Regions from separate parts of the Homo sapiens genome. Here region 1 is linked to region 2. The links are contacts of gene promoters, found by promoter capture Hi-C in human tissues and cell types (Jung and others, 2019). All regions are on one chromosome and are shown on one strand. The core of a region is centred on a gene start or on the middle of the fragment in contact, and the rest is flanking DNA. Distances in the headings are between cores, read along the strand shown. Region 1 has its middle 16 kb from the start of RNASEH2C. Region 2 holds the start of PACS1 (phosphofurin acidic cluster sorting protein 1).

Evidence for each region. The method cuts DNA at HindIII sites, captures the fragments that hold promoters and counts their contacts. A contact is called where the count stands out against the background at its distance.
Region 1: a fragment that was not itself captured here is called in contact with the fragment with the promoter of PACS1 in region 2 in 2 of the 25 tissues and cell types used here (IMR-90 fibroblasts and mesenchymal stem cells).

Annotation. Positions count from the first base shown.
Region 1 is chr11:65,734,994-65,738,293 of GRCh38, reverse strand. No RefSeq gene overlaps it. Among named protein-coding and RNA genes, the nearest start is that of RNASEH2C, 16 kb to the right of the region's middle. The HindIII fragment of the contact is 9,114 bases long and covers 1-3,300 here.
Region 2 is chr11:66,068,628-66,072,061 of GRCh38, reverse strand. It overlaps PACS1 (phosphofurin acidic cluster sorting protein 1), which reads right to left and starts at 1,790. Exons shown (of 24, transcript NM_018026.4): 1 at 1,220-1,790. The coding sequence starts at 1,575. It overlaps SF3B2 (splicing factor 3b subunit 2), which reads right to left. Exons shown (of 22, transcript NM_006842.3): 22 at 2,754-3,388. The coding sequence ends at 3,317. RefSeq lists silencers at 846-1,050, 1,111-1,260, 1,271-1,400, 1,551-1,600, 1,611-2,230. The HindIII fragment of the contact is 13,254 bases long and covers 1-3,434 here.

The DNA of each region.
Region 1 (3,300 bases), core at 564-3,063, 330 kb after region 2:
AACTCCAGCCTGGGCAACTGGAGTGAGACCCTGTCTCAAAAAAGAAAAGAAATAGCCAAAAAGTGCAATTGTTAGCTGTTACTTTAAGTCCCCTGCCACCTTAGAATTACCTATCCTGAGAAAGTGTCACAAGATCACCATCTGGGATGCCCAGATGAGAGCCCCCAACTCACTGGCTCCTGGTCCAGAATCAATGTGCCTACTATAAGCAAAAGGACCATTCACAATGAGAATGTCCTAACCATCCCCAGCAAACGAGGGAAAAAGCTCCCCGTCAATATTAGAACTAACCTTCTTCCATATGTCCCAATGAGCCACCTTGCTCAAGTAAATTTACTCAGATTCCTGGACCCTTGACCCAATGGACAGCTTTTTGCAGTGGAAGACAAGTGGCCACCAGAACATTTTTCTTTGGTGTCTCCACTGCTAGATGCTCTGGTAGCTCAAGGACTCTGAGACCTCCCCTTGAGCAACATGGTTTACCACCTCCCTTCCTTATTTGATGCTATGGGGTCCCTTCTCTGCCTCTTCCTGTCTTCCCTACGTATCTGGGCAAACAAAATGTATTGAGATAGACAGGTCCCAATTTTATAAGTAACTTGGATCCATCTGTCTTGTGTAGGTCACTTCATTTGTGTGATGGGTGTTGTGTTTAGCATACTATCAAATTGGCTTATAAATAAAAGAGAATTCATAAATTAAAAAATAAGACTAGTCTAAATTTATTAGTTTGAAGGGAATGTTATGTCTTCTAAAATTTAACTTTAAGATTTTTACCTAGATGAACCTCTGATGTTTGTAGCCTTTAGAATGGTTAGGATGGCTTTTAAACAGTGAGCTTATGTATAGTTGAAAATCTTAAAGCTGTGAAATAGTTCTCATCTATAGAGTGCCAATGTCTGATGAGCAGTTCAGAATTTCTTGCTCTTTAGATTTATATAAAATAAGCCAAAGAAAGTGTGTTTTTTATTGGGAAAAATAATAATTTTTGTCTAATTTGGAAGTTATTAAAAGAGAGGTTCAAAATATGAAGGAACCAGTAAGTAGAAAAGAGAGATATGAAGAAAGTTATGGATAGATGTACTTTTTGCAAGGAAGAATACAAAGAAGGATACAAGGAAGGATATAAAGAAGGATACAAGGAAGAATACAAAGTTATTTTATATGAGGAGGGATCTTGTGTAGTAAATTCTTATCCTAGAGTAAAATGATGAGTTCTTTAAGGAAGGGGTCCTATAGGACAAGTCAGAAAGTCCAAGCATGTTGTAGATGGTCCATGTGGGTCATGATGGGGTTTGTGAAGGGGAATTTTGTGTATGATTAAGCTTAAGCTGACTATGACTAAAGGAAAACTGTGGTAGACTTTCTAGAGAATGGTCTATATATTGGCAACAGGTTTTCTTAAGGTATTGATTTGCTAAATTACAGGAAGTTTTGCTTTTAATAATCTACCTGGTTTATTTTAAAATGTCTTGGATTCATGTCTCAGAGATTCAACTGTTGTTGTGTCTCACTACTTTCAATTCTTTCTCCCTTTAAGAAGGCCTGGGATGATGGCTCTTTCCATCAACCTTTTCATCAACATTGTGACTTTTTTTCCTCTGGTTCTGACTATTGGGCCCTGGTACTAAAATGTTTTGTCTTAGAGGTCTGCGAAAACAGTGTTTTCCCCGAATATAGCTTGATTCTATGCTGTTTTTTTTTTTTTTTTACATATAACCTTATTATTGGCATTTAGTTTTTGACTCTTATATTGCTTTAAAAGATTTTAAGGGCAAATGAGTGCCTGCTCACCTCCATTTCCTTCTGACCTAGGATGTTTAATTGGCTATAAGTCTTTTGACTCTAAGTCCCTTAGCCAAAGGGAATTCCAAAGAAGCCTTCAAAAAAAAAGAAGTCAGACCATGACAGGAAACAGGGGGCCAAACATGCCTCACTGTGCCACCCCTTAGAATTTAGGCTAGGCACAAAGGCCCTTCAAAAATTATAATAACAAAGTACTTCCCTTTCCCACATAGGAAAGAAATAGCTCCTCTGTTCAACCTGAACACCTAGTCTTACAAAAAACTTTTTGTTAAAAAGGATCCCCAGAGGATCAATTACAACCCAAATGGAAGAGCCCCTATCAGGTATTGTTAAGTACCTTCCCTGCTGTTAAACTTCAGGGAATCACTAGTTGGGTACACCTGTCCAAGATTAAATCTGTTTCTTATGAATCCCTGACGGCATAAGAGGAGGACACCATGATTTACACCTGTGAGCTCCTATAAGACTTAAAGCTGTTGTTTCACAAACACAAAGATAAAAAACATGATGCCATGGGCATAGATGCATTAATTTTCTCATCCTCCAAATTATAATTTTCCTGTTGACCTCCTACTTAAGTTTATGTCTTCTAGATTCCACATAAAGATGATGCTGGCACAAGGTTTCAACCCATCCCATCTTATGACCTGAAAAATGAAAATATCCTGTTGGACCCCTTAGATCAGGTATCCAGAGATTACCAGAGGCTAGGGGCATGGGAGAGTGGGAAATGGGAAGATATTGCTCAAAAGGTACAAAGTTTCAGTTAGACAGGTATATTAGAGTTCTCTAAAGGGACAGAACTAATAGGATAGATGTATATATGAAGGGGAGTTTATTGAGGAGTAATGATTCACATGATCACAAGGTGAAGTCCCACAATAGGCTGTCTGCAAGCTGAGGATCAGGGAAGCCAGTCCAAGACCCAAAACCTCAAAAGTAGGGAAGCCAACAGTGCAGCCTTCAGTCTGTGAACAAAGGCCCGAGAGCTGCAAACCACTGGTGTAAGTCCAAGAGTCCAAAAGCTGAAGAACTTGGAGTCTGATGTTCGAGGGCAGGAAACATCCAGCAAGGGAGAAAGATGAAAGCCGGAAGGCTCAGCAAGTCAAGTCCTTCCATGTTCTTCTGCCTGTTTTAATCTAGCTGTGCTGGCAGCTGATTAGATGGTGCCACGCCAGACTAAGGGTGGGTCTGCTTCTCCCAGTCCACTGACTCAAATGTTAATCTCCTTTGGCAACACCCTCACAGACACACCCAGGAACAATACTTTGCATTCTACAACATTTTTATATTACTGTATTGTATTAGAGATGGGGTCTTACTCTGCCACCCAGGCTGGAGTGTAGTGGCACAATCATGGCTCACTGTAGTCTTGAACTCCTGGGCTCAAGTGATCCTCCTGCATCAGCCTCTCCAGTAGCTGGAGCTACAGGTGTGCATCACCACACCTGACTAATTTTTTTTGGGGGGGTAGAGATGGGGTCTCACTATGTT
Region 2 (3,434 bases), core at 541-3,040:
CTAACAAGGGAAATGATAAACACAATTCAAAATAGTGTTTACCTTTGTAGAAGGAAGAGGGGAGACAGTCAGGAAGGGGCACCCTGAGAGCTTCAACAGAAGCGATAATGCTCTGTTCCTTAAGCTGAGCGAAACAGAAAGATGTACTCTCATCATTCCTATCTGGGATATATATATAAAACAATATTATCCAGAATAAAGGTGGGGAAAGGAAGACAGTCGAGGGGGGAGCCCAGCAATCCTCTCTAACTCTGACTTACACATCCGTCTGCCTAACCAACAGTGAGGAGACAGCCCAAGACTTCAAGGCAACAGAATCAACTCAGCTACAAGGTGACAAAAAAGAACACCTCCAGGCACTTCTCTGGGCTTTCTGGGTGAAACCAGCTCCACACACCGTCTTATTCAAGTGGCAAACTGTAAGACACAGCACCCTGTCCCCAGAGTTGGAGACAGACTGCCTTGCCAATACAAAAACAGAAAATATTCCCAAACTCAGGCCTATTTTGCCAATGGAAGGAAAGTCCCCAGATGGTTCCAACAGACAGAGAGCAATGGATTGAATTTAGGAACAAGGCAGTAATTTCATACAGCCCTGCAGAGCTGGGAGATTCTGGGACCAGTTTTAGTGGGGGAGGGGAGGTAAAAATACACTTGAGGACACATTAAATAGGGCCCCAAAACTAAGAGCCTAGCGCTTGGGACAGAACGTGTGTAATATGAAGTTCAAATGAACATGTGTGCCGAAGGCTAATGAGAAGCCCCTAGGGTGATTATATGAGCTTTACCTGCAAGAGGTGACAATCGAGTTTGGCACATGCTGAGTCTATTGGGAAATAATAATATCAAGAGATCTATACCACATCCATGTATGTACAGCTCCCGGCGCCGGCGAGGCAGGAGAGTGACTTACTCAGGGAAACTGACTGCCAGGAAGGCCGGATTCGGTCAGCCCAATCGGAGAAAGCCCGGGGCCGAGGCCAGAAGGTCCCTCGGGGAGGACAGAAGGGTGGTCCCGGCCCCAGGCAGAAGGTGGGGCTGCCAGGAGAGGGCGGGTCCCCGTGGCAGGAGTCCCGGGAGGCCTGGCTGGAGCCAGGCCGGGCCGCGGGACAGTCGGGGAGATGGAGGGCGGGGACCCCATGGGCGCTGGGGCGGGGAGGGCTGGGCCCCGGCGGCCACCCCGCTCCCCCGGCGCCCCGCCGCACCCTCCCGCGCTCACCTAGGCACGCAGCTGGACGAGCTCCGGTCCACCTCCCAGGTGGCGTACAGGTTCATCTGCACCGGGGCGGGGGTGCGGCCTGGCCCCGGGCCACCGGGAGGCGCGGAGCCCGAGGCCACCGCCACGGCCATGGAGGTGGAGGTAGACGAGGACGAGGAGGAGGCAGCCGCCGCCGAGGTGGACGAGGACGACGAGGTGGCCTGGGCCAGCTTGGGGGGCGTCGGCTGCTGCGGCGGCTGCTGCTGCTGCTGCTGCGGCGGCGGCTGCTGAGGGGACTGGGCGACCCCGGATCCCCGCTGGCCGCTGCCGCCCCCGGCGCCTCCGGGACCACCGCCCGCCCCTCCGCGTTCCGCCATGGCCCGGCTAGGCGGGGGTTACGGAGGCCGAGGCGACGCCGATCTGGCTCCCAGGCTTCCCCCGCGGCGGCGGCGGCGGGGGCGCGGCAGCCTCCTCAGCCCGCCTGCCCGAGCGCGAGCAGCCAGCGAGCTGCACGCACGCGCGGGGCCTCTGGGCGCGCGGGCCTCGCGCTCGACCGCCGCTGCCTGTTGCGGCTCGCGAGGCCGACACGGGTGGGCGTGTCCGGGAGGGGGCGGGGAGCCCGGCCCGCGCGGCCCCACCCAGCGCGGAGGGGCCGGGCCGGGCGCGCTCGCGCCCTGCGTGCAGCCACGCGCGCCCCTCGCTCCCGCGGAGTAGAAGGGGTGGTCTGTGGCCAGCGCGCGCCCACGGGTCCTGCCCTCAAATCCGCTGCCAGTCTGCCCCCGCTCCTCCCCTCCCCGCCCACGGCCGGCCGCGGCCCCGCCAGCGGAAACCCGGCTTTTCCGGGATTCGGTCCCTGCAGGGAGGGGGCCGCCGCGGGAGCGCGCCTCGGCCCCTCGGGTCTTCGGAGCCAATGCGGAACCCGCCCCCAGCGGTGGGGGTCTGCCCGGGGAAGCCGGCTCTCCGCCTGCCGACCTAGCCCTGCCCTGCGGCCCCGGCAAACAGAGAGGTCGGCGGAGACCCGGGGCCCGCTGCCACCGCGGGTGCCTGTGATCCGGGAAGTTCCCGCCCCGAGGGCAAGCGGGGGCTCAGGGACCTGGAGTCCAGAAGGTTCTTCGCATAAGTGAATTCTCAAGCTACCCCGGGGCCCATCTGGAGCCAACCTTCCTCTTCTTTCCCTACCCCCCAAATGCCTCTTTAGAGTGCCAGTGCTTTGTTGCTTACCAAATTTCTAAAATTCCATTCCTCCTAAGGCCTAGCTCAGCTGCCACGTCCTATCTGGATCATGCCCCCCACAACCCCGAGACCATCTTGAACCCTCCGGCAAGTGAGCGCCTCCACTGGTGCACTTAAACACCAACAGTAGTACAACAGCAGCGCATGACTACCCTCCCCACAGGCTGGCAAATGCCCATGGGAGCCAGTGATCCAGCCTGCTCTAGTCTGTCAGAAAGGCTGCTCAGGACCAGATTACAACCTGGAGAAAGTAAGTCCCCCCATCCCACATACAAATCCCAAACCCCAGCGACTAGTGTTGCTTGAACCCAAGGGTTCATATGGACTCAAGACAATTTAGCTTTTGAGCTATGTTGTCGCACAGGTAAGGACTTGAACTTCTGGTCACAAGGTCAGTTGGGAAGGCCTGCCCTGGCCTACTTCCCAAGCCCACTGTTACTTCCTCTGCCGCGCTAGGGCGCTAATCTGGCTATTTTTACTCCCCAAGGACAAAGTAGTAAGGTCAAACCAGACCTAGAGGTACTTCCCCCAAGCCTTCCTACAAAGCAGGGCAGTGGTGAAACACAGATTTCAGCCTGGGGTTGGCGTCACCACCAGTCAAATGCGCCGTCTAATCCCAGTTTATGTTCGTGGTTACTGGGGCAGCCCAGTGATTGTAGAAAGAGACTATTTTAGTCCTTTTGCAAGAAGGGGCTAAAAGGAGATGAGGGAGGCTCAGGAGTGTTAAATATTCATCTCTTTCCTTGGGAAACAGCTTTATTTACAAAACAGGTCTAAAATAAGAACATGAAATGACAAGTCCTTGGGAACTGCGGGAGAGGTGGTTCTTGTGTGAAGCCCAGGCATCCAGACGTAGGGCCAAAAAAAGGGCTAGTGTGAGGGGACCTAAAACTTGAACTCCTTATATTTCTTGCTGCCCCCACGGCTGTCCTGGGGCTGAGCTTTCCGTTTTTTTTGCTGTATAGGGAGAAAGAGACACAGGTTAAGACAGGTTGAACCACCC